Linked DNA regions of Homo sapiens: region 1 is linked to region 2. Evidence: promoter capture Hi-C in 16 types of primary human blood cells and fetal thymus (Javierre and others, 2016). All regions are on one chromosome and are shown on one strand. Each heading gives the region's core, a stretch centred on a gene start or on the middle of the fragment in contact. The rest is flanking DNA. Distances are from core to core; before and after follow the strand shown.

What was found. The method cuts DNA at HindIII sites, captures the fragments that hold promoters and counts their contacts. A CHiCAGO score of 5 or more calls a contact.
Region 1: a contact is called between a fragment that was not itself captured here and the fragment with the promoter of BCORL1 in region 2, in 11 of 17 cell types (non-activated CD4 T cells, activated CD4 T cells, total B cells and 8 more). The highest score is 11.1, in non-activated CD4 T cells.

The regions. Positions count from the first base shown.
Region 1 is chrX:130,059,480-130,063,579 of GRCh38, reverse strand. No RefSeq gene overlaps it. Among named protein-coding and RNA genes, the nearest start is that of ELF4, 49 kb to the left of the region's middle. RefSeq lists silencers at 2,682-2,751, 2,772-3,071, 3,092-3,351. The HindIII fragment of the contact is 4,596 bases long and covers 67-4,100 here.
Region 2 is chrX:129,981,239-129,985,291 of GRCh38, reverse strand. BCORL1 (BCL6 corepressor like 1) reads right to left here and starts at 2,657. Exons shown (of 14, transcript NM_001379451.1): 1 at 2,530-2,657. RefSeq lists a silencer at 1,592-1,828. The HindIII fragment of the contact is 8,398 bases long and covers 1-4,053 here.

The DNA.
Region 1 (4,100 bases), core at 1,115-3,614, 79 kb before region 2:
GGGTCCTGGAATAGGGATGGGGGAGCACTTGGGCTCAGGGCAGTAGCTCCGGAAGTATTTTAAGCTTAGCATCAGCCCTGTCTTCAGGACAAAGCCCCAAGTCCTTGGCCTGCCATCAAGACCCTTCACCTTTGGGTCTTAACTGACTTCCCCAGTCAACTCACCCTGCTCCTTCTGCCACCACTCATACCCCAAGGCACTGCTCCAGTCAAACTGATGGATTTGCTGGCCTGTGAACATGCCTCTGTTTACAATTTCCAAACTCTGTGCTTTTGCTCTTATTATCTACTACATATATTCTAAGCATTTTAAACCTGGAAACCAAGATCCTCCATTTATCTTTTACCTGCTCTAGGCAATACAGACAAACTCAACATTATTTACACACTCCTGTGTTTTCTTAATGAATATTCTTCCCTTCTATGTATCTTTTCCTTTAGAAATACAATCCATTGGCCATGCGCGGTGGCTCATGCCTGTAATCCGAGCACTTTGTGAGGCCGAGGCAGGCAGATCACGAGGTCAAGAGATCGAGATCATCCTGGCCAACATGGTGAAACCCCGTCTCCACTAAAAATACAAAAATTAGCTGGGCATGGTGGTGTGTGCCTGTAGTCCCAGCTACTCGGGAGGCTGAGGCAGGAGAAACACTTCAACCCGGGAGGCAGAGGTTGCAATGAGCCGAGATCGCGCCACTGCACTCCAGCCTGGCGACAGAGTGAGACTCCATCTTGAAAAAAAAAAAAAAAAAAAAAAGAAACGAAAAGGAAAGAAAGAAAATCCATCCACAGCCAGGCACAGTGGCTCACGCCTGTGATCCCAGCACTTTGGGAAGCTGAGGTGGGCGGATCACCTGAGGTCAGGAGTTGGAGACCAACATGGCCAATATGGCGAAACCCCATCTCTACTAAAAATACAAAAATTAACCGGGCTTGGTGGCACGCACCTATAATCCCAGCTACTGGGGAGGCTGAGGCAGAGAATCCCTTGAACCTGGAGGTGGAATTTGCAGTGAGTCGAGATTGTACCTGGGTGATCAAAGCAAGACTGTCTCAAAAAAAAAAAAAAAAAAAAAGAAAAGAAAAAAAGTACAATCCATCCTTCAAGATCTGATTGGTTCCACTCAATCAGAATGTCCTTCCTATCCTGCTAGTACCAATTAAATTGTGTCCCTCCTTCAAGACTCGATTCATGGACTCTGCCTCCCCAGACCAGTCTGTCCTAAGTGAGTTATTTAAAACTTATTGCAATTGCCACTCTTTCAGCAACTGATCATGAACACCCTGTGACATCTATTATAATGCAAACTGTTACTTAAATCTTCAATGACCTGTACCTATTTAGTGTCCCCAATTAGCACATTACCTCCTTGAGGAGTGGGAGGGACTGTATCAACCACGTAACATGGCACAGTACAAAGGATCAAGGTAATGGTTACTGATGGAGCCGGTGGGAGATGGGGACCAAACTTTGAGGTAGGTGACCTCTGACCTCCCCTCTGCACAGGCACTCACCCCAGGTGCTCCACTGCTCTGGGCCTGCCCTCCCTGGCTCAGTGCCCTCATGGTATCCCCAACCCCACCCCCCCATCTTAGCACTCAAAATTTGTTACTATTTTGAACATCCTCTACCCCTAAAGCAACTTCCCTGTCCAGTTTCTTTCCTACTCCAAGTGTGAAACTAGCTAAACCAATTAACCTGTGCTGATACAGTTATGGGAGAGGGCTAGAGGAGAACCTCAGGAGACAGGTTCATTTTAACCAGAGTCATGTGGCAGTAAGTCTCTGCCTTTTCTTGGTTTAATGGAGTCAGGAGTCAAGAGATGACCCTCATCTCCCAGCAGCTGATATGTTACTCCCTCCTCTGGGTTCCCACAGCACTTTGTTTTCTTTATTTTTTTGAGATAGAGTCTCCCTCCGTTGCCCAGGCTGGAGCGCAGTGGTGCGATCTTGGGTCACTGCAGCCTCTGCCTCCCGAGTTCAAGCGGTTCTCCTGCCTCAGCCTCCCAAGTAGCTGTGACTACAGCTGCGTGCCACCACGCCCGGCTAATTTTTGTATTTTTAGTAGAGAACGGGTTTCACCATGTTAGCCAGGCTGGTCTCGAACTCTTGACCTCAAGTGATCCGCCCACCTCAGCCTCCCAAGGTGCTGGGATTACAGCCCTGAGCCACCTCACAGCACTTTGTAAATACCTCTTATGGTAGCACTTAGCACAGTACAGTTCTTTAATTACGTGTTTATGTAGGGTTCCCCGCCAATAGGCTGTGAGCTCCTCAAGGACAGGGACTGTGTGTTAGTCACTGATATATCCCTAGTGCCTAGCACACAGTAGGTTCTTAATAAATGCTTATTGAAAGAAGGAACTGGTCCTGATTTTAATTCTGAGACTTCTGCCCTATGCTATGGCAGGCAAGAGGAGAGGGAGGAGGACAATCCACACTTGGGAGCTAAGGCAGCTTTCTGCCCGCTCCTATAACACTGCAGGCGGCTACTTCCTTTGCCCCTGGAGTGTTAACAGACATCCCCGGATCACAGGGTCCATGAGGAGCCCAGGGCTGCTTGCCAGCTGTGCGTTGCTGTCACCAGGTGCCACGTGCAACTCCCGAACTCCCGCCCTTTGCTGCTGCCCGCTTCCAGGGACTGCCTCGCCACTATTTCCTCACCCCTGGGTGGGGCTGTGCGGTGGAAGTGTCAGCTCCGGTGGGTGGGGCGGGACAAGAAGTTATTCTGACGGTCACAGGCCTTTCTGATCCCATCTTGTACTCCAAAAGAGGCAGTTGCCTCCAGCTCTGAAGCCGCTGGACCTGGGGTGAGTGAGCTCCTTCCCCTCCCAGACTGAGGTCCCAGCCTCCGAGAACTTCGGGCCCCGGCGCGCCGGACGTGGAGGCCGACGTCCAGCAGGTGGCGCTGTCGAGCCAGCGATGGCGGGAGAGTGGCCCGGCGGGGCCCGGGAAGGGAGGGGCAGCCAGGGTTGGGCCTACCGTCCCTGGCGGAGGCGGCCGCGGCCGCGGCTGGCGTCTTCCGGTCCCCCGATCTTGCCCCTGCGCCTGCAACTGTCCCCGGATGGTTCTGGCCGCCACCAAAGCCCTCCGCTGCTCCGGAGCTTCGAACTTTCCCCTCGACCCCAGCCCCCTTCACTTTCCAGGGGGAATTTAGCCGGCCGCCGAATGCGCTCCCCCATTGGCCAGCCGCGCTCTGGCCCCGCCCCCGGCGCCCCCTCCCTCAGCCTCGCGGACCAGCAGGTGAGCACGCGGAGTCGCAGTCACCCGGCCTGCCCTCCCCTCCCCTCGCGCGCCGCCGCCTTCTACCGTGAAGCGGGAGAGCGATCGAGGCGCCCCAGACAGCCGTTTGCTAGCGGAGGGACCTGACCGTCCGCCGCACGAGCCCGGCTCCCAAGGACCGGCGCGGGGCCTAAAGACGTCGCCCCCAGAGGCCGGACGCTGCGGCTCGGCCGACCCCCGCGCGGTGGCAGCCGGAGCGCTAGGGAAACGAGTGGAGCCCCGGCCCGGATCCTGCTGCGGGATCCAGAAGGCCCGAGCACTTCGCGTCCCCCTGCCCAGCAGTTGAGCAGACGCCCCTGGGGCGGACCCCACCCTTCCCAAACACACACACACTGGTCTTTGCATGGGCAGGACACAGTTAAACACCCACCAGGCCTCCCGGTTATTGGGTTAGAGTATGGACCGAGCAGGAGTTTACTGCCCCATTCACCACCGCCCCCAACCCCACCTACCCCAAATAGGGATGCGGAGACTATCCCTCCTCCCACCAAGACTTGAACAGAGCCTCTCTTTCAAGCCCAAAGAGCGTTCTGATAAGACCCTCATTAACCATAGGTTCGTGAGCTCGGCATGAAGGAGGAACTAATTTTGGCTAAACAGATCTTTATGGTCCTCAGTGTGATGCTCTGTCAGTAGGTGGGTACATTGGCCTCCATTTGGCTGATGGAGCAATTAAGGCTGGGAAAGATTAGGTTCTCGCCCAAGGTCAGCCTAGGTAGTTAGGAGTGGTGCTGGCTCTTTCCTCTACACCATACTAAAAGGACTGGGAGATCATTTAATAAGAGGCCACCAAGCCATCCTCACCCCAATCCTGACCGG
Region 2 (4,053 bases), core at 1,408-3,907:
AGAAAAGTAAATAACCTTAAAACTCCCTTCCAACCTTGAAATTTTATAATCAACCTAATCCACTCCCAACCCCAAATGCAATCCACATTTATTTTCCCATGTAACTCAACGGCGTGCTTTTGAGAAAGAGCCTTCTAAGTTGAAAGAACCACAGGGCTAACCACTGTAACGCTAACCTACAACTCATCTCCAGAAGTCTTACTGAAGATTTTTGCAATTGTACTCCACCTCTGTACCACAGGGACGACCTCCAAACTGCCTTAACAGTAGTCAAGCTGTGGCACAAAGTTACCGGGCCCCCTTCCCACACTAACGTAAAGAGCCTCTAAACCCTGGGCTAGATGCTTGCTCGCCAAAGGATGCCTGTCTTTACTGTCTACTCCAGGAGACACCAAGAATGAATATCACCCCATCGACAGTTTCGATCAGCCAACATTGAAAATTTCAAAACAATAAAACAAAAACATAGTGCTTCCACTCAGGGAGGGAGGAGGTGCGAGCGGAATAGAAGGGCACCCCCACGGGCCTGTGCTGTTGGCCTCCCGGGTTTGCAGTGTTTCCCTCCCACCTTTCCCCTCGACCACGTCTTTCCCTACAACAATCTCCCGCACCTCCATAACGCGAAATCCCCAGCCGAGGTGCGGCCGGCTCCTCCCAGCCTTGCCCCGGACGTCCCTCTGGCCCAGCCTTCCTCTCGGCGGGACCCCGGCGAGGAGGGCCCCCTCCACCGACCAGTTCACCTCCCTATCCCTTCCCCGGCCTCTTGGCGCCCCTGCAGGGCTCTGTCCCGAAACCGAACCTCGAGGAGCCAAGCCCACGAGGCCAGTCGCGGGACCCACACCCCCCTTCCTTCTCCCAGCACCTCGTCCTCCATGCACCCGGCCCCCGGGGCTCCTCGTCGTCGTCGTCCCGGCTCGTACCGCCCCCCGTCGGGGGCTCCACCCCCCCGCCTGCCCCCGCCCCCAGGACGGCCCCCTCCCCACCGCGCGCCGCCTGCGCCCTCTGCCCCGGCACGGGACTCTCTTTGGCCTCCGTTCCCCGCCCAGAAGCGGCGGCGGCGGCGGCGGCAACGGCTGCGGCGGCCCCAGCAGGAGCAGCAGCGGCGGCGGCGGCAGCGGCGGCGGCAGCAGCGCCGCCCCCGGCCCCGCCCCGCCGCCCGCCGGAGCCCCACGCCCCGCCCGCCCGCCCCGCCGCCGGACTGCTCCCCCCGAAGCCCACCACTAAGCCCTCCCACTCCCCGGCCGCGATCCGCTCGAATCCAGCTCCGCTGGGCCTGCTGTCCGTCCCTCACGCCCCTTAGGACCCGGGGTGGGGGAGCCCTGGGGTTCGCGGCCATCCCTCTCCCTCCTTCTCCAAGGGCCGGGGGATTGCCCCTGATCCCGAAACCCGGCCCCGTAACCGGAGCCTCCCTCCTTCCAGCCCTCGGCTTCGCTCGCCGACCCCTTGCCTCCAGGCCTGGCGCGAAGCGGGTGGAGGGCTTGCACGCCGGATCTCCCCTCTGGCTTGCCGGTGCTAGTATGAATTGCCCCCGATCTCATCTTCCTTCAATTTAAGCCCCCTCCCCGCCGCGCCCGGCCCGGCGGCCCCCGCCCCTAGAGCGAGGGCAGCGGAGCCAGGGCGCTCCGAAGTCATCCCCCGCCTTTTTTCCAGGGACTCGGATAATTGCCCCTGCCCCCATCACAGCACTCCCACTCCCGAACCCAGGCCCCGCCGCCACCTAGGGGTACCCCTTACCCTACGATTCCCGCACCCCAGCGCCGGGAAGAAAGCAGCCCTGAAGAGCACCCGTCGCACCTCCCCTCTGAGGTTGGAGGGCATTTTCTCCCGGTCTCTTCAACACTTCATCACGGACACCCCCCCCCCCCAAAAAAAAGCCTTTTCTCGCCCTGCCCTGCTAGCCAGCCTCCCTTCGGATCGTCGGATCCTTGGATCGGGGGTTGGAGTCAGGTAGTTAACAAGACCATAGCCTCCACCTCCCTTTCCGAGGAGTGGGGTAATTCCTATGGTTTCCCCCCCAGGATCAACCGACCCCCGTTTCCATGGAGACCCCCGCCCAGCCGGGAAGAAGACTCTCTTGGATCGTGGCGAACGAGTCTCACCTGGCTAAGAGAGAAGGGGGTCGAGAAGGGGGTAGGGCAAGTCAGGGGATGGGGTACGAAGGTGGGAAGTGGAAGGGAGCTGTCCCGAAGGGAGGGGCGAAGACATACCCAGCTCCAGGGAGCGCTACGTCCGGGGACACGAAGAGGACGGCGCCCCCGGGGGGCAAGCCGAGCGGCCGCAGGGAAAAGAAGGAACAGGGTTGGAGAAAGGCTTAAGATAGAAAGAAGCGGGTGGGGGGATACGAAAAAGCCGGGGAGTCAAAAGGGGTGGAGGGATTGGGGGAGAGAGAAAAAAGACGCACCTGTTCCCGGGTCGGCTCCGCGGGGAGGCTCAGGCCGCCACCCGGGCTCCCTCTTACTCCCTCTTAACCGCCACCCGCCTAATACTGCCCCGATCTGATGCCCCCCTCCGCCCCTTATCGCCACCGACCTCCTTCTCCTCTCTCTCGGCGGCGGCGGCGGTCGGACTCTAGGAACTGAGAGGAAGAAGGGAGGGCTCAGCAAAGCGGAGGAGAGACAGAGCCACACACTGGCAGCAGCCGCGGCGAGCGAAAGAGTGAGGGGGAGAGCGGTGTGTGTGTGTGTCTGTGTGCGAGCGAAGCCTGGTGGAGTGGGTGCCGGTCGCAGGGCTCGACGGGAAGTGGAGTCCGGCTGGGTCCGCGGGCGGCGCCAACCCCCGCTCCACCGGACTACAACTCCCAGAATGCGGCCTACGCGGGTGGGGGGGAATGGGGAGGAGGAGGCGAAGGGAGGGAGCGAGCAAGAGAGGGAGGGACGAAAGCAGGGAGCAAGCGGCGGCGAAGGGGGCAGAGCCAAGCAGCCCCGGTGACACTGGGAGGGGAGGAGAGGAGGAGGGGATCGCTGAGAGGACCGAGCGGATTCCGGAGAGGGAGGCAGCAGTGGCTGCAGCAAGCCGGGCAAAAAGCTAGACTCCTGGGAGAGGCGGAGGCGCTCAATCTGCGGGGCTGCAGGAGCCCCACGTCCCCCCCCACCTCGACGCCCCTCGAAGGGGGAGGTTGAGGAAGGGAGAGGGTCAGTGAGCCGCGGCCAAAGGGTTCTCTCTCTTTCTTCCAACGTTCTCCACCTTATGCCCCGACCTGACTTTCTCAGGCCACTGGTGCCGATCCAGTGTGCAAATCTCGAGACCCCAGATCTCCTCTGCCGGGCAGCGGAGAACAGACGCATTCAGTCCCCTTCTCCCAGGGGCCTGAGGGAGGCTCCCCTTGCAGGCAGGGCGTGACTCCCCCTTCTTCCCGCTCCCCCCCCCACCGTCGTCGCCACCCCCCCATCTCCCTCCCCGGAACCCCTCCCCTGAAGCCGGGGCTCGCCTCTCTCTCTCCCCGCCAAGACACGGAGTCCTTCTGGGGACGACTACCCAGCCCCCTCCCTTATACTGGGCCCCTACCCACCAGTATCCCCTTCTTAGCGTTGCCCCCTCACCGAAATAATGGTGGGGGCGACCCGAGTTGGACTGGTGGCTACTTTCCCTCCAAGGCTAGCCGTCCTTCGCCACGCCGACCCTGTGTAGAAATAGAGAAGCATATTAATACTCCCGTCCCCCCTCCCCCCCAGATTTGAATACCCGTGGAAGTGGCTCACAAGAAAGAGGGGTTGGTAGTGGAAGTGAGCTAGGGGTGAATCCCAATCTTCAAACCTCATCCCTCCCATGGAAATCCAGGTATTCGCCTTTTGCTTAAAAGCCATTAAATCGCTTGGGTGGGGGGTAAATTATCTAAACCCCAATGTCCATGCGACTCGAAGCGACGCTACCTTGTAGGAATAAGATACGAACTAGGTTGCCGCCACGGGAAGGAAAGTATCCCCCACCCCCGTCGCCGTCCACCCCCAAAAACACATACCCCTAGGAGAGTCAGATGGCTGAAGAAGGGGGAAGGCGGTGGGAGTGCTGGAGAGTAAAAGGACTGTGGCGGGGAGGGTCCGCGGCCCCCACTAC